Regions from separate parts of the Homo sapiens genome. Here all the other regions are linked to region 4. The links are contacts of gene promoters, found by promoter capture Hi-C in blood cells and fetal thymus (Javierre and others, 2016). All regions are on one chromosome and are shown on one strand. Each heading gives the region's core, a stretch centred on a gene start or on the middle of the fragment in contact. The rest is flanking DNA. Distances are from core to core; before and after follow the strand shown.

Region 1 (6,446 bases), core at 1,954-4,453, about 19 Mb before region 4:
GATCCCAGTAGTCTGTTACTTCTTTCTACAAAATGTTCACTTATTAATTTAGAAAATAGAACAGTTTTCCCAGTGTACTAAAGTTTTGTTTTTTTAAACACACACACACTCTCCCCTCCTCTGTCTCACACACACCCACCCACACAATTCCAAAGAATTTAGAAAATAGGGAGTTACAAACAGCAAATCTACTACCCAGAAATAACCCAGTAATATTTTGATCTATTTCCTTCTAGTAAGTTTCCTATGCACATATACATTGTTTTCAAGATTGGAATCTTATGACATTTACCATTTCATATCTTGTATTTTCACTAAAAATTATGTATGGTTCTTATATTTGGTTTTCTTTTCTTTTCTTTTTTTTTCTTGAGACGGAGTCTCGCTCTGTTGCCCAGGCTGGAGTGCAGAGGCGCGTTCTCAGCGCACCCAGGCTGGAGTGCAATGGCTAGATCTCAGCTCACTGCAACCTCCCGCCTCCCGAGTTCAAGCAATTCTCCCGCTCCAGCCTCCTGAGTAGCTGTGATTACAGGCACCTGCCATCATGCCTGGCTAATTTTTATATTTTTGTAGAGATGGAGTTTCACTATGTTGGCCAGGCTGTTCTTGAACTCCTGACCTCAGGTGAGGCCTCCCAAAGTGCTGGGTTTACAGGTGTGAGCCACTGCTCCTGGCCTATATTTGTTTTTTTTTTTGTTGTTGTTTAATCCCTTTATATTACGTAATACAGAAAAATAGTTAAAATATAGATGTATAGTTTAAGAAGTAATTATAAAGAGACCCTCAGCATAACAAAAACTTGCTTCAGCAGTCCAGAAAAGCCCGCTAGTCCTTTCCCCAGAATAAACTTATCCTACCTCCCTCTTTAGGCAACACTTATCCTGACTTTGATAATCGTTATTTTCTTCTTGACTTTTTAAAAAAAGTTTTGTTTTGTTTTGTTTTTTACCACATATCTGCTTATCCCTAAACAATATAGTTTAGTTTTGCCTTTTTAACACTATATAAATTAAATTGTACTGTATGATGTTGTTTTGAGTCTTGCCTTTCTTATAAAATACTATATTTGTTAGCCTCACTCTCGCTGCTATACATAGCTGCAGTTCAGACGTTGGTTATTTCCTGTATGACAGGGCTGCTGTGAAAATGTTTTTACAAGTATACCAGCATATATGCATACCTTTCCAGGATATAAGTGTATGAAGGAATTGCTGGGCCATACAGTATGTTTTGCATCTTTAAATTTCCTAGATAATGCTGAACTGATCTACAATATAGTTTTATAAATTAAATTCCTACCGACAGCTTATAAACATTATAGTCATCTTGTATTCTAACACATGGTCATTTGGTATTCTAATCTTTAATGAATCTGCTGATACCATGATATATCATGTTGTTTTAAAAGTATAACATACATTCTGGGGCCAGGCATGGTGACTCATGCCTGTAATCCCAGCACTTTGGGAGGCCTACTGGGCAGATTGCTTGAGCCCAGGAGTTTGAGACAAGCCTGGGCAAGATGGTGAAACCCCATCTCTACAAAAAGTACAAAAATTAACCAGGCATGGTTACATGCTGCTATTGTCCCAGGTATTCAGGGGATAAGGTGGGAGGATTGTTTGAACCTAGGGAGGTTGAGGCTGCAGTGAGCTGCGATTGCACCACTGCCTTCCATCCTGGGCAACAGGGCAAGACCCTGTCTCAAATATATATATATACCATACATTCTGAAAAGTACAAAATCAAGGTATATGACCTGATGACTTGTATAAAAGTGAGCATATTCCGGGCTGGGCGCGGTGGCTCGTGCCTGTAATCCCAGCACTTTGGGAGGCCAAGGCAGGCAGATCATGAGGTCAGGAGATCAAGACCATCTGGCTACGGTGAAACCCCGTCTCTACTTAAAAAAAAAAAAAAAATACAAAAAATTAGCCGGGCATGGTGGCGGCCGCCTATAGTCCCAGCTACTTGGGAAGCTGAGGCGGGAGAATTGTGTGAACCCGGGAGGTGGAGCTTGCAATGAGCCAAGATTGTGCCACCGCACTCCAGCCTGGCCGACAGAGCGAGACTCTGTCTCAAAAAAAAAAAAAAAAAAGAAAAAGCATATTCCTTTGACCAGATCTCAAATCTGATAAGGAAATAAAACATAACTGGCATTACAGAAGCCCAAGTCTTGTCCAGTTCACTCACTACCCACTTCTCCTAAAGAGAACTAATAGTTTGTCTTCTATAGCCATAGACTAATTTTACCTATACTTGAATTTTGCTTGGCTTCTTTTTTTTTCACTTTTTTTTTCCTACTGTCAGTTTCACTTGGAGATGATGCTTGGCTTCTTTTGCTCAATATTGTATTTCGTATGTAATATGAATGTATTCTGTAATAATATGTAGTATAAATATATAAAATTCATCCATGTTGCTGCACGTTAGTTATAGGTGATATAATGAATATAGTGAACACATTATTATTGCTGTTTAAAATTCTGTTGTATGAATATAACACTTTTTTTTGTTTTTGAGACAGTTTCGCTCTTGTTGCCCAAGGTGGAGTACAATGGCACCATCTCTGCTCACCACAACCTCCACCTCCTGGGTTCAAGCGATTCTCCTGCCTCAGCCTCTCAAGTAGCTGAGATTACAGGCGCACGCCACCACACCCAGCTAATTTTTTGTATTTTTAATACAAACGGGGTTTCACCATGTTAGCCAGGCTGGTCTCAAACTCCTGACCTCAGGTGATCCGCCCGCCTCGGCCTCCCAAAGTGGTGGGATTACAGGTGTGAGCCACCGTGCCCGGCCGAATATAACACATTTTACTTATCCATTCCATTACTGATTGGCATTTGATTTCATATTGAGGCTGTTATGAAAAACGCTGCCGGGAACATTCTTTTACATGTCTTTTGGTGCACATATGAATGCATTTGTCTTGGGTGTATTTCTAGGAGTGAAATTGCTGGGTCATGGTTTCTGTATATGTTCAGCTCTAATAGATACTGACAGTTTTCTGAAATAGTGGTATCAATCTATATTCCAAACTGCAGTGTAGACTTTATGACAAGAATAGATTTTACAACAAGAAGCTTTACTAGAGATAAAGAGGAATAGTTTATAATAAAAAGATCAATTCACCAGTAAGATATAACAGTTCTGAATTTATATGCCTTCATAAAATGGCTTCAAATATATTTGACATAACTAAAAGAAGTAGTAGATAAATCACAATCTTAGTGGGGAGTTTTTAGCACTCTTCTCAATAGCTGACAGAACAAGTGACAAACCCAATAAAGCTATATGGTATTTGAACAGTGTGATTGACAAGCTTGACCTGATTGATATGTATAGAACAGTGTACCTTACAACTACATAATATACTTGCTTTTCAAATGCATATGAGACATTTATCCAAATTGATCATATGCTGGGCCACAAAGGGAGTCTCAATAAATTTCAAAGGAATGAAATAATACTGTAACTTTCCTGACCACAGTAGGTTAAGCTAGAAGTCAATAACAAGAAGATAATTGGAAATATCCCAGCCAGGTGTGGTGACTCATGCCTGTAATCCCAGCACTTTAGGAAACCGAGGCAGGAGGATTGCTTGAACCCAGAAGTTTTAGGCCACCCTGGGCAATATAGCAAGACCCCATTTCTAAATTTAAAAAAACAAAAATTAAAGAAATATCCCAATGTTTGGGATTTAAGCAATGTATTTATAAATAACTGGTGACTCAAAGAATAAATTGTGATAGATATTTAAAATATTTTAAACTGAGTGATAATGAAAAATAACATACCAAAATTATGTTTCTAAAGCTGAATATGAGGAAAATATATAGCTGTAAATGCATATGTTAGAAAAAAATGAATGTTGGCCGGGCGCAGTGGCTCACACCTGTAATCCCAGCACTTTGGGAGGCCCAGGCTGGTGGATCACGAGGTCAGGAGTTCAAGACTAGCCTGGCCAAGATGGTGAAACCCCATCTCTACTAAAAATACAAAAAAAAGTAGCCAGGTATGGTGGCGGGCACCTGTAATCTCAGCTACTCAGGAGGCTGAGGCAGAGAGTTGCTTGAACCTGGGAGGCAGAGGTTGCAGTGAGCCAAGATCGCGCCACTGCACTCCAGCCTGGGCGGCAGAGTGAGGCTCCATCTCAGAAAAAAAAAAGAAAAAAATTAATGTTGAAAAATTAATGATCTATGTATTCATCTCAAGAAGCTAAGGAAAAGTCTAGAAAGTTAAACCCCCAAAATTAAAATCTAGGAAATAATAAGAATAAAAGCCCAAATATAAAATTTTTAGTTTATTTGGTATTGCATATATTTAAGGTGTACGTGTTTTGCTGTACATAACGAACATATATTGAAATACAAAATGAATGTACAGTGAAGAAAACTAACAAAGGCAAAAGCTTATTTTTGGGAATTAATAAAATTAATAAATCTCTAACAAAACTTAAAATATGAAGTAACACAAAAATTGCCAATATCTGATAAGAGGAAAATTAAACCAACCACAGACTTAACTTAAAGGCTGAGGGCTCAATTAATTAATTAGTGTTTGGTACCTGGGACTTGGTTCCACAAAATAAGCTCATTGGAATCTGAGCCACTGATCATTATACTGGGTCCCTTTTTATACTTCATTGAACATGTAGATTTTTCTGGTTTTTTGTTTTTTTCTTTTTTTGAGAGACGGGCCTCTCACTCTGTCACCCAGGCTGGAGTGCAGTGGTGCAGTCACAGCTCACTGCAAACTCGACCTTCCAGGCTCAGGTGATTGTCCCATCACAGCCTCCCGGGTAGCTGGGACTACAGACAATGTGCCACCATGCCCAGCTAGCTTTTTTTTTTTTTTCAATGATTTTGTTTTCATTTTAATTGTGGTATAAAAGACAATGTAAAATTTACCATCTTAATCTTTGTTTTTTTTTTTTTAGACGGAGTCTCACTCTGTTGCCCAAGCTGGAGTGCAGTGGCATGATCTCAGCTCACTGCAGCCTCTGCTTTCCGGGTTCAAGCGATTCTCTTGCCTCAGCCTCCTGAGTAGCTGGGATTACAGGTGGGTGCCACCATGCCTGGCTAATTTTTGTGTTTTTAGTAGAGACGGGGTTTCACCATATTGGTGAGGCTGGTCTTGAACTCTTGACCTCGTGATCACCTGCCTTGGCCTCCCAAAGTGGTGGGATTACAGGCATGAGCCACTACGCCTGGCCATCTTAATAATTTTTTTTTTGAGATGAGTTTTGATCTTGTTGCCCAGGCTGAAGTGCAATGGTGCGATCTTGGCTCACTGCAACCTCTGCCTCCCAGGTTCAAGTGATCTCCTGCCTCAGCCTCCCGAGTAGCTGGGAATACAGGCATGTGCCACCAAGCCCAGGTAATTTTGTATTTTTAGTAGAGACAGGGTTTCTCCATGTTGGTCAGGCTGGTCCCGAACTCCCGACCTCAGGTGATCCACCTGCCTTGGCCTCCCAAAGTGCTGGGATTACAGGTGTGAACCACCACACCAAGCTAATCATTTTTAAATGTACATTCCAGTGTTAAGTATATTCATATTGTACAATAGATCTTTAGAACTTTTTCATCTTGCAAACTGAATTATAACTATTAAGCTACAATGTCCCATTTCCCTCTTTCCCCAGCCCCTGGCAGCCACTGTTCTACTTTCTGTTTCTATGAGTTTGACTACCTTAGATACCTCTGTAAGTGGAATCATTTATAATAGTATTTGTCTTTTTGTGACTGGCTTCTTTCCAGTCACAATACCCCAAGATAGAAAGGGGATTCACTGCAGTTAGTCAGTAGACACACACAAACCCAAGTAGTAACGGGATACAATATAATAATGAATTAGTTGAATGCTTTGATAAATTAGTTTGACATGTTACTTTTTATTATCATTCAGTTTAAATTTTTTTTTTTTTTTTGAGAAGGAGTCTCGCTCTTGTCACCAGGCTGGAGTGCAATGGTGCGATCTCAGGTCACTGCAACCTCCGCCTCCTGGGTTCAAGCGATTCCCCTGTCTCAGCCTCCCAAGTAGCTGGGACTACAGGCGCGCACCACCATGTCTAACTAACTTTTTTTTTTTTTTTTGTATTTTAGTAGAGACGGGGTTTCACCATGTTGCCCAGGATGGTCTCGATCTCCTGACCTCGTAAAATATTTTTAACTTCCATTGCAATTTATTCTTTGAACCACCAGTTATTTATAAATACATTGCTTGAATCCCTGACTTAGCATAATGTCCTCAGGGTTCAAACATGTAGCATGTGACAGGACTTACTTTTTTGTAGTTGTTTATTTGTTTTAATATGCTTTATTTTTTAGGGTACTTTTAGGTTCACAGTAAAATTGAGCAGAAGGTACAGAGATTTCCCATACACGTCTTTCCCCCACACGTATGGTCTCCCCCATCATCAACATCCTCCACCAGAGTGGTAC
Region 2 (5,879 bases), core at 330-2,829, about 12 Mb before region 4:
GACTCAAGGGGAAAACAGGCATTTGGGGACCTGTTTGTGCCAGGTGCTTCCTTTATCTCTTTTGTGTTGACTGCATTTGGTTTTTGGTTTTGCTTTGTTTTGTTTTGTTACCATTATTTATTTTATGGAGTATGAAAATTAGTAGAAATGAACAGTGCTCCCACTTCCTTACCTCCCCTCTCTCAAATTATCTGTTTTTATCTTCTCTGCTGTTCGTCATGTACATTTGTAACTGTATTTGTATTGATGATATACATCTAATTGTAAACTGTGCTCTTTTTATATGTTATATAATCTTCCATTTTTATGGTTACATCATATTCCTATTACATTGATGTATCTTTTTATTTATAACTACCTCACGCTCATAGACATATTTTAAGCAACACTGCAGTGACAGCTTTCCTATACATAACCTTTTCCCACAAAATTAATTTTGAAAACCATATGCCATTTTAGCTCAATTTTGAAAGGGTACTTTTGATATGTACCACATTGGCTGTTTTGCAGATAGAATATTTTAACTAGGCACAGAACAAAAGGATGTAACTGCTGCACCACACAAATATTGTTGGAGTTTTCACACTGGAAGAGCTAGATTCTGTGTTCTCCTTGTCTCAGTCATACTTTGCATGTGCTTTATTTACTGGTCTCTTCTTATTCATTTATGTAGTAAGCAGTTTAACCAAAGCAGTAGAAAGCCTTCATTTAAAATGTCCAGTGATACTAAGTTTTGCCAATCACTTGTGTTCTGTTACTACATTTACTCCTCAGCGCAGCGGAATGAGGTTCCTGGTCTCTTCTTCTTCTTGAACAGGTGAAATATGAGAAACCTTCTCAGGTGTACACAGGCAACCAAAGGTCAGGAGTGTTAGCCATTCGGCTCAGGTGAAAAAGAGAAACAAGGAGAGAGACAGAATTCTCCATTGAGCAACCTGTGCCCTGTGATGTGGATGTCTGGAGTGCCCTGTGGAGTGATGGTGTCCCTAGTGGTGCTGCTCCTCCCTGTCCCTACTTGGTGTGACTTCTTGTCACATGTCACTATGACATGGCATCTACTCCAGGCACTGAAGTATACTGATTACCATAGTTGTTATAGAAAATCTTTAAATCCCTTTTGGCAAAAGATGCCTCACACAATGTTACCAGAAGAAATAATGACCTGGGGCAGAAATGTTAGCCACGTGGATACCTAAAGAAAATAAAATTCAAAATCAAAACCTTGAGCACAGAATAAAGGAAAAACTCCAAACAGATAGGAACAAAGGACACTAAAAGGCCAATGTAAAAGGAGAAGTAGAGATGGCCAATAACCTTGAAAAGTGATGGTTTTCATTTGTAATCAAATAAGTGAGAATAATAGAATGATTTGTTCCCCAAATCAGATTACCAAGACTGTGGGAATACTTATAACCTGCTCTTGGTCATGATAAAGAGAAGCAAAGTACTTGTATTCTGTTCAAAGATTATGGAGGTAGGTAAAAAACTGGGAAGAAAGCATGCAGTTATATGATCACAGTTCTAAATGTGCTTATTTTTTGATGTTTTAATTTTCATTTGAAATTATTATTTTAAACAATGAGAGAGTAAGATGTTCTTACATCTTGCTACATCATTACTTAATGATGCTCTTTACAGGATTGATAATGGAAAATATGTAAAATTAAATATTCTTTACTGTAGCTAAAAGTAGGTCATCAGATCTCTGGAATACTATGCAGCCATGAAATAGATAATGCTAGTAACAACAGTAAAAAAGATTCCAGCTAATGTTCATTAAACAGTGGCACAGATGTTTCCAAATGCTATGTATTTCCTTGTTTAATCCTTTAAAATACTGTGCCAAATAAGGACTATTATTTAGAGAGGAAAGTAAATCCTGTAGGCAAACATGTCTAAGGCCACACAGTTAGGAAGGGGCAGACCCTTAGGATGTACAGTGATGCATTCTGGCTTCTGATCAGGACACTGAAGGCTGCAATTAACATTTGTGGTTTGTACCTTGAGAGTAGAGGACACACTACATAACTGTCCCACTCAGCTGTCCACACTGGTACTGTGGAGTAGGTTCACTGTGCACTGATTACCAACTTGTGTGAGTCCTGTGAGACAGAACACGATCTCACTCAACAGATTACGTGAAGCAGATTTGTTATCTACAAATTGGCAGCAAGGGAGCACAGGAGTGTAGGATACACTGTGAGGTGGCCATCCAAGGCTGAAGAAAACGTCCTGGGGTGGGTAGAATCTTGACCCCATTTCCACCAGAGCAGAGGTACCCCAGAAGGCAGCCCACCCGAGGTTATATACCTCCGGGGCAATACGACTTACTGGGCACTTTCTCCCTAACTCAAGACATTATCTTCCCTAGGAAGGACAGGAACATTGCATTGCTAGCATGTTCTATGTTTATTCTTCAAAACTATACACAAGAAAGAATGATTCAAGGCCACCCTGAAAATTACCCACAGTTACCTAAAACTTGTTAGTTTAGCAAATACTAAAGAAAAGCAATAGCATCCAGGGTTTGAGTACGAGAGAGGAGGACCCAACAAAGTTGGGACTGAATTGTTTAATGTTGCTGGGGCAGTTGGCAAGATGTGTCGAACCTATATATGGGTAGCTCAGGATGCAGCATGTAGAGTCCTAGAGGGTTACATACAAGTAGACTCAATGAGTGCACAGAATAAATGTATGAGACTTCATCATTGCACTTCTGGTGGAGTTCAGGAAAATCAGTATGTGTCATTGTCAGGATATAGACAGAATGAGTGGGAAATCTCTAAGTTGACCTACATCCCTCAATACTGAGAACAACTTTCCACTCATCCCCTTCCCCTGCTCAATGCCGCTTCTCCCCCAGTAGTCCTTGGTCATAAGATTGAAGTTATGTCTTCTTGATGTTGTAGGAGGCAGTGACCTTCAAGGATGTGGCTGTGGTCTTCACTGAGGAGGAGCTGGGGCTGCTGGACCCTGCCCAGAGGAAGCTGTACCGAGATGTGATGCTGGAGAACTTCAGGAACCTGCTCTCAGTGGGTGAGCACGGGCATCTTTTGTGTCTGAACATCAGGCCTCAGGAGTGGTTTTGTACCTTAGAGTGTTCAAGTTTGAGTGTGCATTGGGAACCTAAATAGCCAGTAAATTTTGCCTAAATATTACCCAGAATGTGTTGGGATTCAGCACGTGACCTTACCTATTCACAGGGCATCAACCGTTCCACCAAGATACTTGCCACTTCCTAAGGGAAGAAAAGTTTTGGATGATGGGGACAGCAACCCAAAGAGAAGGGAATTCAGGTAAGAACTAAGCATCTGTGTGTCCTTGTACCTGACTCTCCCACCTGTTGTGCTTCTGTCCATGCCCATTTGCATTGCTCTGATGTAAATGACCACATCTCCTTCCTGGATTATTACAACTGCCTTCCAGTTGGTGGCCCTGTTCCCACCCTAATATCTGTTCTCATGGCAGCCAAAGCGATCCTTAGGAAATGGAAGTCAGATTGTCATTCCTCTCCTCAAAAGCTTTTATAACTTCTTATTTTTATTGATGTTACAACCTCTTTAAGTGCATCTTAGAGACCTATGTGGTCTGCTCTTCATCCCATTCTGCCTCTCTGACTACGTGTGTCCTTTCCATCTTTCTCCATCATTTCCAGCCACATTTCTTCCCTGCTGTTTCTGTCCTGCCAAGGACACTGTATTGCCTGTTGTGGTAACCAATGACCACAAACTTAGTGGACTAAACAAAAATATTTATTATCTCTCTGTTCTTTAGGCCTGAAGTTTGATACATTTCACTGGGCAAAAATCAAAGCGTCCCTAGGGCTTTGTTTCTGCCTGAATGTTCTTGGAGGGAAAACTTCACTTTGGTTTACCAGTGTCTAGGCACTGTCCACACTCCCTGGCTCTTGTTTCACGTCTCCATCTTCGAAGGCAGCTACTTTGCATCTCTGACCATTCTTCCATAATCCCATTCCCTCTGCCACTCTTCCTAAGCCTCTGCCTTCTACCTTTCAGGTCCCTTGTGATTGCATTGGTCACTCCTGCATAAACCAGGATGATCTTCCTACCTTCTGCTTAGGTGACTAGTGACCGTTATGGCGTCTGCCGTTTTAATCCCCCTTGCTGTGTAACATAATAGGAAGGCTGACTGTATATTGCAGAACAGTTTTTTTGGCCTGCTGATGGCTGCTTATCCAATTCTGACTTTCTTAGGTTCCTTGACATGATTGGTTTCAGGTGTGTACAATTGACCCACGTCCCGTGGAAACTTCTAAGCATTGTTTTTATGACCACACTGAGTAAGATGCCTTCCCTGAGACTTATCCTGGAGCTTTCCATAGGGAGCATATTTATATCTGGGAAGAAATTCTTTTTGAATGAGGATTTCCAGCTACATTTCCTTTGAAAGATTTACCCATCTGCAGCCCATTTGCCTTTTCCAAAGTCTATATACACTTCACTGGCCCCAGCTTCCTCCTTCGTACTAGAAGGGGGAAGAATGAGGATGAGGGGACACAAGTCATGTAGCTGAACATTTACTCTATTTCTGGTCCTCTTTCTTCATAAATGTGTCTATTTCTGCATCTTTATGTCATACAAGTTTTGTTTTCAAAAACATTAAAGGATATAGATTTTACACAATTTTTTCTTGATTTTTATAGATTTAGTGCTGTATTTTGAACTGGTGAACTTTATGACCTGTTAGGAATTGGGAAACTGCCCTCTAAAACTAGAAACATCCTGAAGATTCTCCTTTCTCCTTAAAGATTTCTTATTAATTTAATTTATTTTTGAGATGCAGTTTCGCTCGTCACCCAGCCTGGAGTGCAATGGTGCAATCTCGGCTCACAGCGACCTCCGCCTCCCAGGTTCAAGTGATTCTCCTGCCTCACCCTCATAAGTAGCTGGAATTACAGGTGCCCACCACCACACCCAGCTAATTTTTGTATTTTTAGTAGAGATGGGGTTTCACCACATTGGCCAGGCTGGTCTCGAACTCCTGACCTCAGGTGATCCACCCGCCTCGGCCTCCCAAAGTGCTGGGATTACAAATGTGAGCCACCATGCCCAGCCAAGACCTCTTATTTATAAGTGACAGTGTATTAAATATATCTACGTACCACTGTATACCAATAGGTACACACTTACCTATAAATCCTTTCCAAGATTCAACCTCTGCAACTTAACTTTCCATTGGAAGAATTTACTTAATTCAGGACTTGGTATTATCCTGACAAAGTTTTGAATGTTTTGCAAGCATGAGCCATAGTAAGAAGCACATATTTCAATATAACCCGGACAAACATTTTTCATGCCTGTAGATGTGTATGAGTGACTCTAGGAGGCATTTCATGGAATGACCACTTTCCTGCTTGTCATGATGCTGTGATAATTTACATTCCAGTTCTTTTTTGTAAATGTTTATTGCAGAGTTTAACTGTATTTCATAGCTCACTAATGTGTAGTCTTCAATATAAAAAGTTATAAAGTCCTATTTATCTGCATCATAGGCTTTCTTTTCATTTCATGTGATTCTTCACATTTTTGATTGTCTGCTCAGGAGCATCCCCCTTTGTGGACCCCTGGAAGGACAGCCTTTCAGATTCCCCTCAAAACTGTAGTTGTGTGTCTCTGTACTCCTTCAGATAACCAAGTTACTCTCCACATCAATACAGAAAAGTAAGATGAAGTATTTTACATATGCTGTGCAAAATTCTTGTGCAGGGATACTTTGAATGTGTACATAGAAACACTATGAAGTGTTTGATGTTTAATGTTGTGCAGAGTTCAACCAACTACAAAATTTACTGAGACATTTTACAGAGAACTGCTCTCACTTCACACCAAGTGCAAATTCAGGAGGTTTTCAAAACTGCC
Region 3 (6,351 bases), core at 3,390-5,889, about 12 Mb before region 4:
TTTATGGGGATGAGCGTAGGAGATAGTGAGACAGGGAAAACTGTAACAGCTGAAAATTGACTGAGATCTCTTGGAATCTATAACAACTTTTTTGTGGTGCTCTTTTCCTTCTTGATGCCACCCTTCTTCTAGTGAAGGTTGGTTGTAAGATTGAGGTTACATGTGTTTGATATTGTAGGAGGCTGTGACATTCAAGGATGTGGCTGTGGTCTTCTCCAGGGAGGAACTGCGACTGCTCGATCTTACCCAGAGGAAGCTGTACCGAGATGTCATGGTGGAGAACTTCAAGAACCTGGTTGCAGTGGGTGAGGACAGGCACTCTCTGACCCTGAACTTCAGTTCCCTTGAGAATCTCTTTGCTCTCAGGTGTTTAAGGGTTTGGACCTTTTAAAATGGTTCTTTGCTCTTGAAGACAAAAGGTTTTCTAATCCCTGGGAAAACAGGATAGGTTTTTCTGGTCTTTCTGCTCAGGCAAAATTCTGTCCTTTTAAATTGCTGGTTCTCAACCATGGGTGATTTCGCCCCCAGAAGATATTTGGCAATGTCTGGAAATGGTTGTCACACCTGACAGAGGGGTGCTATTGGCATTTTGTGGGTAGTATCCAGGAATTCTGCAAAATCTCCTACAGTGCACAGGACAGTGCCCCCAACAGAGAATTGGCCAGTCCAAAATAGTAGTGCTGCAGTTGCAAAACCCTGTTTTAAATGAACCGTAAATGGACACATTAGCTTCTATGCTTTATCTTTCAAATACGTTGTCTTTCAAATGAAACCCATCAATGCATTAACTTAGTGCACTGTACTGGCTTTTTTTTCAATGAAATAAAACAGATAAGGATAGAAAATATCAGAGCTTCTTATCAGGAACTGCTCACATTGCAACAAAAACTGACAATTTTCAGTGAATGGTGTGAGATACAGCATTGCAAATGTGATGAAAACAGACATTAGCCAAGTATAACTTGAGAGAGAGATATATTATATATATATGAACTAGGCTACAACCTAAATTTCTTATTATAGTTCATGATCTTAAAACATCTTAAAATAAATCACTCTAGAGGCCGGGCATGGTGGCTTACGCCTTTAATTGCAGCAATACGGGAGGCCAGGGTGGGTGGATCACTTGAGGTCACGAGTTCAAGACCATCCTGGCCAACATGGTGAAACCCCATCTCTACTAAAAATGCAAAAATTAGCCGGGTGTGGTGGCAGGTGCCTGTAATCCCAACTACTCGGGAGGCTGAGGCAGGAGACTTGCTTGAACCCTGGAGGCAGAGGTTGCAGTGAGCCGAGATTGTGCCATTGCACTTCAGCCTGGGCGATAGAGTGAGACTCTGTCTCAAAATAAATAAATAAAATAATAAAATATCACTATAGAGGTTGTGAGGCTTATAGGGTTCAGACAAAAATGTGTTTTAGTTGTGTGTTCATCTTAAATACATAAAAATCTACATTTTCATAGGGCATCTTCCCTTCCAACCAGATATGGTATCCCAATTGGAAGCAGAAGAAAAGCTTTGGATGATGGAAACAGAAACCCAAAGAAGTAGGTATTCTGGTGAGAACCCTGTGTCTGTTCTTTCAGGTACTGGTTAGTCTGCATCTTACCATGTCCATGACCTCCCTGGTCTGAGTGTTAAAATCTTTCACCTGGATTATAACAATAGCTTCCATGCTGGTCTCCCCACCTCCTCCCTTGTGCTCCTATAATCTGCTTTCTAAATGGTAGCCGGAGTGGTTCTTTTTTTAATCTTTATTTTTTTGAGACAGGGTCTCACCCTGTCACCCAGGCTGGAGTGCAGCAGCATGATTGTAGCTCACTGCAGCCTCAACCTCCTGATTTCAAGTGGTCCTCCCACCTCAGCCTCCTAAGTAGCTAGGACTATAGGTATATATCATGATACCTGGCTAATTTTTTATTTTTTGTAGAGATGAGGTCTTGCTGTGTTGCCCAGGCTGGTCTCAAACTCCTGGACTCAAGCAGTCTTCCCACCTCGGCCTCCCAAAGTGCTGGGATTACAGATGTGAGTTGCCGCACCCGGCCCAGAATGGTTCTTTAAAGAACACATGAGATGATGTTATTCCTCTGCTCAGAAGCCTTCACAACCTTCCCATTTCACTCAAAGTCCTTGTACTGAACTGCAAGACCCTACCTGGTCTCATCTCACCAAGTTTCTCTTTGATCTCCCATTCCTTTCCCTTTGCTTAGATCATTTCAGCCATGCTGGCCGCCGTTGGAGTATTTGTTAAGCATACCAAGTTCCCTTCTCTTCCATGGCTTCTAATTAGCTCTCCTCATTGCCTTGGTGGAGAGGCTCCCCAGCACCTTACTTACTGCACTCAGGTCATTCCTCAAATGTTATATCATTAGAGAGGCCTTCTATGTTTAAATTTACCATTTTAATTTAAAATACCATCTTCCTTCCATTTTCCATCCCCTTACCTTTCCTTTCTCTCCTTCTTTGCTTTCTCTTGAATTTGCATATTCCTCAGGTCTATTGACTTAAAAATTAAAAGTAAGCTGGGTATGGTGGTACATACCTGTAATCCTGGCTACATGGGAGGCTGAAGTGAGAGGATCACTTGAGCTGAAGAGTTCCAGACCAACCTGGGCAACATAGTGAGACTCCATCTCTACAAAAAAAAAAAAAAAAAAATATATATATATATATATATATATATATCTTAGCCAGGCATGTTAGCATACATCTGTAGTCCCAGCTACTTGGGAGGAGCATCAAGTGAGCCCAGGAATTTGAGACCAACCTGGACAACATAGTGAGACCTTGTCTCCCACACACACAAAATTAAAAGTAAAAATTAGATATTCCTAGATGATGTGAATTTTTTTTTTTTTTGAGACCGAGTCTTGCTTGCTCTGTCACCTAGGCTGGAAAGCAGTGGTGCCATCTTGGCTCACTGCAACCTCTGCCTCCCGGGTTCAAGTGATTGTCCTGCCTCAGCCTCCGAAGTTACTGGGATTACAGGTGACCACCACCATGCCCAACTAATTTTTGTATTTTTAATAGAGATGGGGTTTCACCATGTTGGCCAGGCTGGTATTGAAGTTCTGATCTTACCCACTTTGGCCTCCCAAAAGTGTCACCCAGGCTGGAGTGCAGTGGCATGATCTTGGCTCACTGCAACCTTCGCCTCCTGGGTTCAAGCAATTCTGCTTTAGCCTCCCGAGTAGCTGGGATTACAGGCGCCTGCCACCACACCCGGCTAATTTTTGTATTTTTAGTAGAGATGGGGTTTCACCATGTTGGCCAGGCTGGTCTCGAACTCCTGAGATCGTGGTCCACCTGTCTCAGCCTCCCAAAATGCTGGGATTACAGGCATGAACCACCATGCTCAGCCAAAGGGTTTGTTTTTATAAGAATTCTTAACAAAAAACTTACAGAGAATGGAGACAAGTAGATATCACATCCCTTTTACTCAGAGTTAGCTCATAGATTGAGAGCACACCAGTGTGATTAATTATTTGGGAACACTGTCTTCTAGTGAATGTCTAACATAATTAGTAATTTCTAAGACATTTTTGGACATGTAAATATTCAAACCTACTAACCTTAGAAGATAAAAGCTATTCACAGTTGTTGGAATGTAGAACTTCACTATCAAAAATTATCAGTGGCAATATGGCAGGTATTATAGTTCATCAGTTTCCCTGTATCAATTTCAAGTTGGCTTTACTCATTGGTGAAAACTGCCTTATCCATACAGCTGACTTCCCACTTTCCCATTTCCCCTTCCCTCTAATACCAAAACAGTTATATAACCTACATACAGTAGTTCTTTAGCAGTTTTGAATTGGACATTTCCAGAAGTCCAGAGGCACTGACATACCTGTGGAGTTGAGGTGAGTCCTGATTAGGCAAAGAAAATTCCAGAATTTCTAAATTGGGTTTCCAGTGTAATTTGCATCCACATGTATTAATCTTAGCTTCTAGCACCAGCAATGTGAGAAGCACTTTACATGTTGCAGTGACTTCTGACACCAAACACCTGAAGTTAGGCCGGACTTTCAGAGTAAGGGCATAGTTTTCCACAAGACTGCTCTCTATATCGCTCTAAGTTTATATATCGCTCTAAGTTTAGGGATTCCCAGATAATTTTGCTCACCTCTGACCAAGTAGCTACAAATTTGGGAGTTCCCGTGATAATTTGTTAGAATGACTGACAGAACTCGGGAAGGTGCTGGACTTACAGTTTTATTATAGCAAAAAAGATACATGTTGGAAGCAGCAAAAGGGAGAGATATATAGGGTGAAATCTGGGTGGCTTCCCTCTTTCTTCCCTTTTGTAAGGACTTGTGATTACTTTAGGCTCATTGGATAATCTAGGATAATCTCCTTAAGAGCTTTCATTTAATCATATCTATAAATTGCTTGTTTTTTTGTTTTTTTTTTTTGTAGACGGAGTCATGCTCCGTCGTCCAGGCTAAAGTGCAGTGGTGCAATCTTGGCTCACTGCAACCTCTGCCTTCTGGGATCAAGCGATTCTCATATCTCAGCTTCCCTAGTAGCTTACAGGTGCCTGCCACCATGCCAGGCTAATTGTTTTTTTAGTTTTTTAGCGGAGACGGGGTTTCACCATGTTGTGGGCCAGGCTGGTCTCGAACTCCTGACCTCAAGTGATCCACCTGCCTCGGCCTCACAAAGTGCTGGGATTACAGGTGTGAGCCACTGTGCCTGGCCTGTAAATTCCTTTTTGCCATGTACATTAACTATTCACAGGTTTGAGAGTTCAGGCTGTGGACATCTCTTGGGGGTGGGGTGTCATTACTCAGCCTGCCATATCCAGAAATGTGTAGACACCTGTTGCTATTTTTTTTTCAGTTTGTATTATTAGAATGTAACATTTCATTTAGGCAAATTATTTGATTAGGACTTGGTAAACCACCCCCTAAACATTTTAAGCCAAGGTCTTTCATACGTTTCTAACCATGACCCTCAACATAAGTATAATTTTACATCTTGACTAAGCATAAATATGTTTATATTTATGTGTATATTTACCAACTAAAACAAGTATTTCCTATAGTAGTACTCTTATTGCTTTTAATACACTAAGCATGTCTTATTCTGTTTTTTGTTTTTTTGTCAGTCACAAGTTACATACTTGGTTTCATGGTGCACTAATGCATTGCAACAATTTGAAAACCCTTGTTAACAGTGGGGATAAAGCAATGAAGAAAACAAAATGCGTGTTTTTTTCATGACCGTTACATTCTACTGGGTCTAAAGAGACAAAGGAAAGTATATAGTAAATCAAATAATAAGTACTGTGGGGAAAAGTCAAGCAGGGTAATTGAACTGGAAAGAGTCGAAGGTGTATGGCAGGCCGGGCGTGGTGGTTCAGCCTGTAATCCCAGCACTCTGGGAGGCCGAGGTGGGCAGATTACTTGAGGTCGGGAGTTCGAGACCAGCCTGGCCAACATGGCAAAACCCCATCTCTACTAAAAATACAAAAATTGGCTGAGTGTAGTGGCATGCGCCAGTAATCCCCGCTACCCGGGAGGCTGAGGAGGAGAATCTCTTGAACCCAGGAGGTGGAGGTTGCAGTGAGCTGAAATCACACCACTGCACTCCAGCCTGGGCGACAGAGCGAGACGCTGTTTTTTAAAAAAAAAATGGCGTATGGTGGTACCGTTGATTTATTTTTACATCGTGTGTTATGGAAGGCATCACAGATAAAGTAACATGTAACATGTGAGCAGAGACCTGAAGGGAGCGAGAGAACAAGCAAGGCTCCCTGCTTTCTGGGAGGAAGTTTCCAAGCTGAACATACCTCTCCCTCTCTTCGTCTTCTGTGTTGGCTTTGAGAGTTTGCACTATGCTCTATTTCCTCTCCGAAGTTCTCTCCTAGTTATACAAGATTAGCTTTCCCTTTTCCACTTGTCCAGAGACCTGGATTTCTACCAGGTTTTAGAACAATCATATTATTCCAACTGCCTTCCCAAATCTGTTGGAGAATAATTTCTATCAGGATCTAAAATAGTATTTCATGCCTACAGTCTGAACTTTTCTTAACCTAACTAGTTATTAGAATCCCGCTTGTCATAAGCCTACTGAGGAAGAGGTGAGTAGGCTGTTCATTGATGTTATTGTAGGTTGGAATATGGATTTTCTTTTTGTTGCCCTGCAGCTACCTGATTTTAGCTTTTAGCTCTCATATTAAACTGTTAGACTTACGGTTCTACATGGATCATGTTTATACTTAGTGAATGGGAGCCTGTTGACCCCACTCTTCGTTTACACCTGTATGAAAAACATGTCAAAAGAATACACGATGCTGTAAGGACAAGGTCACCTTTCGCCTGGTTTATCAAGGCTTTCTCCCATG
Region 4 (5,739 bases), core at 1,030-3,529:
TTGACCAAAATGCCCATGGGAGACCTGGATGTTGACTCCAAAAAGAACACCTGCCAAACACCCTGTAATCCCTTTACCCTGCTTTACTTTTCAAAGTACCTATCAGCACCTATTATAGACTTTATTTTTGTCTCTCCTACTAAATGCAAGTTCCAGCTGAGTAAAAACCTTGCCTGTTTTGTTGAGAGACTAGCACAGTGCCCAATCCATGGTAGGCACTCACTGGCTGAATGAATGAATGCATCTCGGAGCTTACCCGGGCTGCAGGCCGTTTCTTCTCATCTCAGAACACTATCCTTTTATCATCTCTCCGTGCCCCGCCTTCCCCAGCTCCCTTACTCTTCTCCCTGTCATCATGCCTTCGGTCTGTCCATGCGCTTGCATCACGGTCCTCTCAATCAGAGTGATTTTGCCCCTGCAGGGGACATCTGACAGTGTCTGGAGACATTTTTTTTTCGCTTGTCACAACCCAGAGGGAGGCGCGGTGTGCTACTGGCCTGGTAAATAGAGCCCAGGGTTGCTGCACAACATCCTATAATACATAGAATAGCAGCCCCTCCCACCTCCCAACAAAAAACTATCTGGCCCCAAATGTCACAGTGCCAAGGCTGTGAAACACTGGTCTGGACAGAAACATTTCCAGACCCATGTGTTATATGGAAACATCCCTTAGTCCCTGACACTTCAAAGTTCTGTTCTTGACCCCATGGGCTCCCTAGGGACATCTCCATCAGGAAGATCCTTTGTTCCTGACCCCACCTCCTCTACCCTAATGCTGCCCTCCCAGGACCCTGCCTACACAATTCTGAACCTAAGCCCTGATCTAGACGTCCAAGTTATTTTACCTCTGGACCTGCAACCCTTACTCTGGGGCTCATCCTTTTGCATTTCTACCTATGGATTTTATTCTCCAGGTGTGGGACGCCTGCGGTTATTATGCTAATAATAAAACGATGATCATTGATGTGGCACTTCCTTGTGCCAAGTTCTACTTATGCTCACCATAAACCTGAGGTTGGTTCTGTTATTACTACTGTTTTACAAGTGAACCGAGGAGTGGTGGACTTAAGTAAGCTCTCTCAGTCACACAGCCAGCCAGTGGTGAAACCAGGAGTCAACACCAGACAGCGGGGCGCCACAGTCCATGCTCTTATTTTTCCAAGCTACCTTGGTAGGAAGGGGACACAACCATACTTAGCGTCAGTGGAGGGCTCTGTCCTCCACTCAAATGTACACATGCAGAAAACTGACGACGCAGGTGGTTGGCGGGGGCAGCGCACCACTGCTCAACTGGAGATGGTCAGATGCCCTGGTATGTGGACAAAGATAGCCCAGTCCGAAGCTCAGAGATGCAAAGTCCTCCAGTATTCACCACTACCTCTGCCTCTGTATAGGGTCAAAGAAAAACGACCACCAGCACCATAACCAACACCTAAACACGGTGATTAGTATGTGACAAGCTCTGTGCAGGGTGTTTCAGCTACGTCATCCCATTTAATCTTCCCAATAACACCCAGGCAGGTGCTATTAATATGCTATTTTACCAAGGAGGAAAGTCATGCACAATTAAACAGTTCCACAGATTTCCAGGGCAGCCCATCACATCTTAGAGCTGCTAAGAATTCTTCCCCTGTGGGCCTCCATTTCCATGGTTACAGTGAGATATACACCAGAAAGGCACAGTCACACACTCATAACCGCAAAGCCACTGACGCTAAGTGGCAGACAGACGCCCAGGCAAGTCACACAGTAACCCAAGGCTACAATAAACGCCCACATCAGCCTGACACTGACACACGCACACACTCCAGAAACACAAATCTTCACAGTCAGCGTCACACACCCACTCCCGGCTTCCCAATGGCTCCATTGTTTCCTTCGCGTGGGTCACGCAGCGATACACATCCGCGGTCCCGACATAGCTCCCTCACACACAGGCACACACGGCTCGCCTCACACGCGGCGCCAACTTCACACTTGGGCGCACAAGCCCCGAGAACCACAGCAGCGAAGGGCGCAAACCCCACGCCGTGGCGGGCCGAGAACCCACGCAGGCGCGAGCCCACCGCCCACGCAAGCACCCGCGCAGACGCCCACGCCATCGTGGATGCGCAAACCCACGCGCGCCTTGGCAGGAACGTCCACGCAGTGGCGGGCGCGCCGCCCACGCCCTCAGACACACCCACACTCTCGCCAGCCCCCTTACCTCGGTCTTCCCGGGCTCAGACCCCGGCGGCGACCACCGAGACAGCCGAGCAGGGACTCAGCGCCTGCGCACTCCCCTCCGGGACCCCGGGACCGCGCGCTGCACCCCCCTTCACACACGCACCACGCATGCGGGCGCGTGGCCCCGCCCCCAAACAAGGCCACGCGGCGTGCGCTCACCCGCCTCTCGGGGACAGTACCACCAGCCCCGGCCTGAGGCCCCGACCCCTCAGCGCCACACGCACAAGCGCGTTCGCACGATTGGTGCAGGCGGACGCGCGAGGTCCCGCGCCTGCGCACACCCCCGAGGCTGGCACGCACACCGGTCTCCTAGGGGACTGGCGCCTGGCCCTGCTTTTCATCCTCTCAGGAGATCACGTGTGGACACTGAGGCCCTTCCTCGAGCTCTTTAACCAAACCCAACCTCCCCAATTCGCCGCCTTCCCCGCTCCCACAACCACACGTTCCCGTGTGAGGGCTTATTGCCTCCAGCCAGCCAGCGTCCTTCGCCCCCACATTCACGAGGTTTGGAGCCGGCCTCACCCGCGGAGGCGGACACCGCCCACCCGCGCGTGCGCACTACGCAGTCATCCTGCGACCTCCAGAATCCACCGGGGTGCAGCGAGGCTGTGGAAAGTCCCACCCAGAACGTGAGGTGAAGAAGGCTTGGGCTGCGCTGGTTCTGCTCTGTCCGGGTCGGAGATGAACTGACCCGGGAGAGCAGCGGAGGGATGTTTCTTTTGGCCAACAGTGGGGACTCACCTGCACGTTTTGCGAAGAGGCCCACAGTCCTTTGCGTGGCGCTCGGACTACATTTCCCAACGGCCCCTGCACGCCCTGGGGGCTGTTCCATGCGGTGTTGCGCCTGCGTAGCCGGCGGGCTGGCAGTGAGACTGACTGCGTCGGGGTTGAGACTGGGTGGATGAGGCTCACCCCGGCGGGGAGAAGGGACGAGGAGGGGCGGACAGCGGAAGGTCCGGGAGTGTCCGCCATAAAGTCGTTTGAGGTGACCGTTGCGTAATTGTGAGTCTGTGAGAGAAGATGTGAAGTATGGCCTCGTCCCGGTCATCTGGGCGTGCGGGTCCCGGGTTTTGATCGCGCGTTTGTGTAGGTGAGACCCACATTGTGTTACCCTGAACATGTGTGAGGACGAACCTTTGTGTTTTCTTATACGTGTGTCTCTGAGGCGATTTTTGTGGTTTTGTACGTGGCGGGGGGCACTGATTTTGAATATGTGTGTATGTTCTGGACATTTGTTTAGCTTCTGCATCCACTTCTGCGGAAGGGCAGAGTTGAGTAGGTGGGAACAGGTACTGTGTGGCCCCACAAAGCCTGAACTATTTACTGTTGACTCTAGAGCCCAGTTTTTGCGGTGTGTACGTCTCTGTGGGGAACCACACATTTTGAATATGTATACTTGTGTATATTTACGTCTATTCTATGACTGCTTTTGCACAATGGCAGGGTTCAGTACTTGCAGCAGAGATCTTGTGGCCCATAAAGCCTAAAATACTATCCGACTAAGGTTTCGAGCCGTAGCCAGTTTTTGTGGATGAGTGTTGTGTGTGTGTGGGAAGCCAGTGATTGATTGATTGATTGATTGATTTGGGACGGAGTCTCGCTCTGTCGCCCAGGCTGGAGTGCAGTGGCGCGATCTCGGCTCACTGCAACCTCCGCCTCCAGGTTCAAGCCATTCTTCTGCCTCATCCTCCCTAGTAGCTGGGACTACAGGCGCCCGCCACCACGCCCGGCTAAGTTTTTTGTATTTTTAGTAGATTCGGGGTTTCACCATGTGGGCTCTTGACCTCGTGATCCGCCCGCCTCGGCCTCCCAAAGTGCTGGGATTACAGGCGTGAGCCACCGCGACCGGCCAAGGAAAGCCAGTGTTTTTGACTCTGTGTGTGTGTACCCGCCTGTGTGTTGAGACCCAGTTTTTGTAGTTGCATAGGTGGGTATATGTGTGAGGGGAACCCAGGGCCTGTGATTTCTTTCTTCCCAGGTGACTCTGAGCAAGTTTTGGGGACTAGGTAGTAGGGAGAATGTGTGAGGAACTAGTTTTGGTTTCCCATTTCTGTGATTAGGTAGTAGCAATAATAAAAATAAAAGCTAACAGATACTACTATTAGGACTTTTACCATTACCTCTGTGACTAGCAGCTAGCACTTACTGATTGTTGTCCCTGGTCAAAAGTGAATTTTTCCATTTAAGGTTTTCTTTAATCCTGTAAGCCGTTCTCTGAGTTGTTCCTTGGAGCAAGTTTCTTTCTAGACTGGAGATTGTTCTAAATACCTGGTAATACTAGAATAAGGGGTGTGGTCAAGAGATCCAAGAAATCTTAGGATAAATCTGTCACTTGGCAGTTTCTTTGTTTTCTTTAAACCACCTCCCAAGAAAGTATGTCATCCTTTCTGCTGTTTTAGGGGCATGTTAGTGCGAAAATCTGGGAAAAAGCTTTATGCCTCAGACTGTCCTAGTTCAGAGAAACCAGAGTGTGTGGGTCGGATGTCTTGGCTCCTGATCAGGCTCTGTTGTGCCCATTCTCCGAATAAAGCAACTATCTCCCAAGACACCCATGAGTTTTCTAAGACAGTTTGTCCCAGAGCCCAGGTCCAGAATCTAGTCCTGGTCTTGGATTTGGTCAGACCTTCCCTCACTCTCACCTCAGGACTCCCCACCACTTCCCCCCCTGCCCCAGGAACCCATGGGAATTACAGGCATAAATTAAATACCTGATCCTATGACAGCTCCAGAGTATCTGGAATCTTTTTTTTTTTTTTTTGAGACAGTGTCTTGCTCTGTCGCCCAGGCTGGAGTGCAGTGGCGTGATCTCTGCTCACTGCAAGCTCCGCCTCCTGGGTTCAGGCCATTCTTCTGCCTCAGCCTCCCGAGTAGCTGGGACTGCGAGTGTCCATCACCACACCCAGCTAATTTTTTTGTACTTTTAGTAGACACGGGGTTTCACCTTGTTAGCCATGATGGTTTCACTCTCCTGACTTCGTGATCTGCCCGCTTCAGCCTCCCAAAGTGCTGGGATTACAGGCGTGAGCCACCACGCCCAGCCCAAGATTTAATTTGTTAAAAAAAAAAAAAAAAAAAAAAAAAGTAGGGTAAAGACGCTAGAAAGTCTAGAGAGGAAGGAGGGATTATTTTACACAGGATGGTCAGGGGAGGCCACTTTGATAGGTGGCATTTAGCAGTGAGGCTTCCTGAACTCAGCATGACTGCTCCGCTTGGCTCAGATTCCAGCTCTGTCCACTGTAGTTGAGGAATTATCCCTAGACAGAGAATGGGGAGATAAAGAGGCTCAGCTTGTTAACAGGTTCCCCTCTCACATGAATCTTTTGTCCACTGCCTCAAAACTGCCCCGATATAGTTTAATTTCGTAGTATGCTATTGTGTCATGCTGCAACTCTTTCAGCTCCAAAAGGGATGGCACCAGGTTCAAGAGGCTGAAGAAGAGACTCAGATCCAGGAAATGAGGCATAGGTTATATGTGAGATGGAACTTACATACAGAGTGGTCCAGTGGTGGTAG

Evidence for each region. Contacts are between HindIII fragments. The CHiCAGO score rates a contact against its expected background, and 5 or more counts as called.
Region 1: a contact is called between a fragment that was not itself captured here and the fragment with the promoter of ZNF667 in region 4, in 2 of 17 cell types (total B cells and naive B cells). The highest score is 14.7, in total B cells.
Region 2: a contact is called between a fragment that was not itself captured here and the fragment with the promoter of ZNF667 in region 4, in 1 of 17 cell types (total B cells). The highest score is 7.6, in total B cells.
Region 3: a fragment that was not itself captured here is called in contact with the fragment with the promoter of ZNF667 in region 4 in 1 of 17 cell types (total B cells); the score reaches 5.6 in total B cells.

Annotation. Positions count from the first base shown.
Region 1 is chr19:37,219,876-37,226,321 of GRCh38, forward strand. It overlaps ZNF383 (zinc finger protein 383), which reads left to right. Exons shown (of 6, transcript NM_001387601.1): 2 at 4,943-5,064. Among named protein-coding and RNA genes, the nearest start is that of ZNF383, 4.9 kb to the left of the region's middle. The HindIII fragment of the contact is 239 bases long and covers 3,085-3,323 here.
Region 2 is chr19:43,988,639-43,994,517 of GRCh38, forward strand. ZNF155 (zinc finger protein 155) reads left to right here. Exons shown (of 5, transcript NM_198089.3): 3 at 2,910-3,036; 4 at 3,204-3,296. Among named protein-coding and RNA genes, the nearest start is that of ZNF155, 7.4 kb to the left of the region's middle. The HindIII fragment of the contact is 3,880 bases long and covers 1-3,519 here.
Region 3 is chr19:44,228,268-44,234,618 of GRCh38, forward strand. ZNF227 (zinc finger protein 227) reads left to right here. Exons shown (of 6, transcript NM_182490.3): 4 at 179-305; 5 at 1,466-1,549. LOC124904726 (a long non-coding RNA gene) reads right to left here. Exons shown (of 3, transcript XR_007067266.1): 2 at 2,545-2,637; 3 at 1-696. Among named protein-coding and RNA genes, the nearest start is that of ZNF227, 19 kb to the left of the region's middle. The HindIII fragment of the contact is 6,247 bases long and covers 1,517-6,351 here.
Region 4 is chr19:56,475,066-56,480,804 of GRCh38, forward strand. ZNF667 (zinc finger protein 667) reads right to left here and starts at 2,280. Exons shown (of 7, transcript NM_001321356.2): 1 at 2,207-2,280. ZNF667-AS1 (ZNF667 antisense RNA 1) reads left to right here and starts at 2,809. Exons shown (of 2, transcript NR_036521.1): 1 at 2,809-3,316. The HindIII fragment of the contact is 7,484 bases long and covers 1-4,654 here.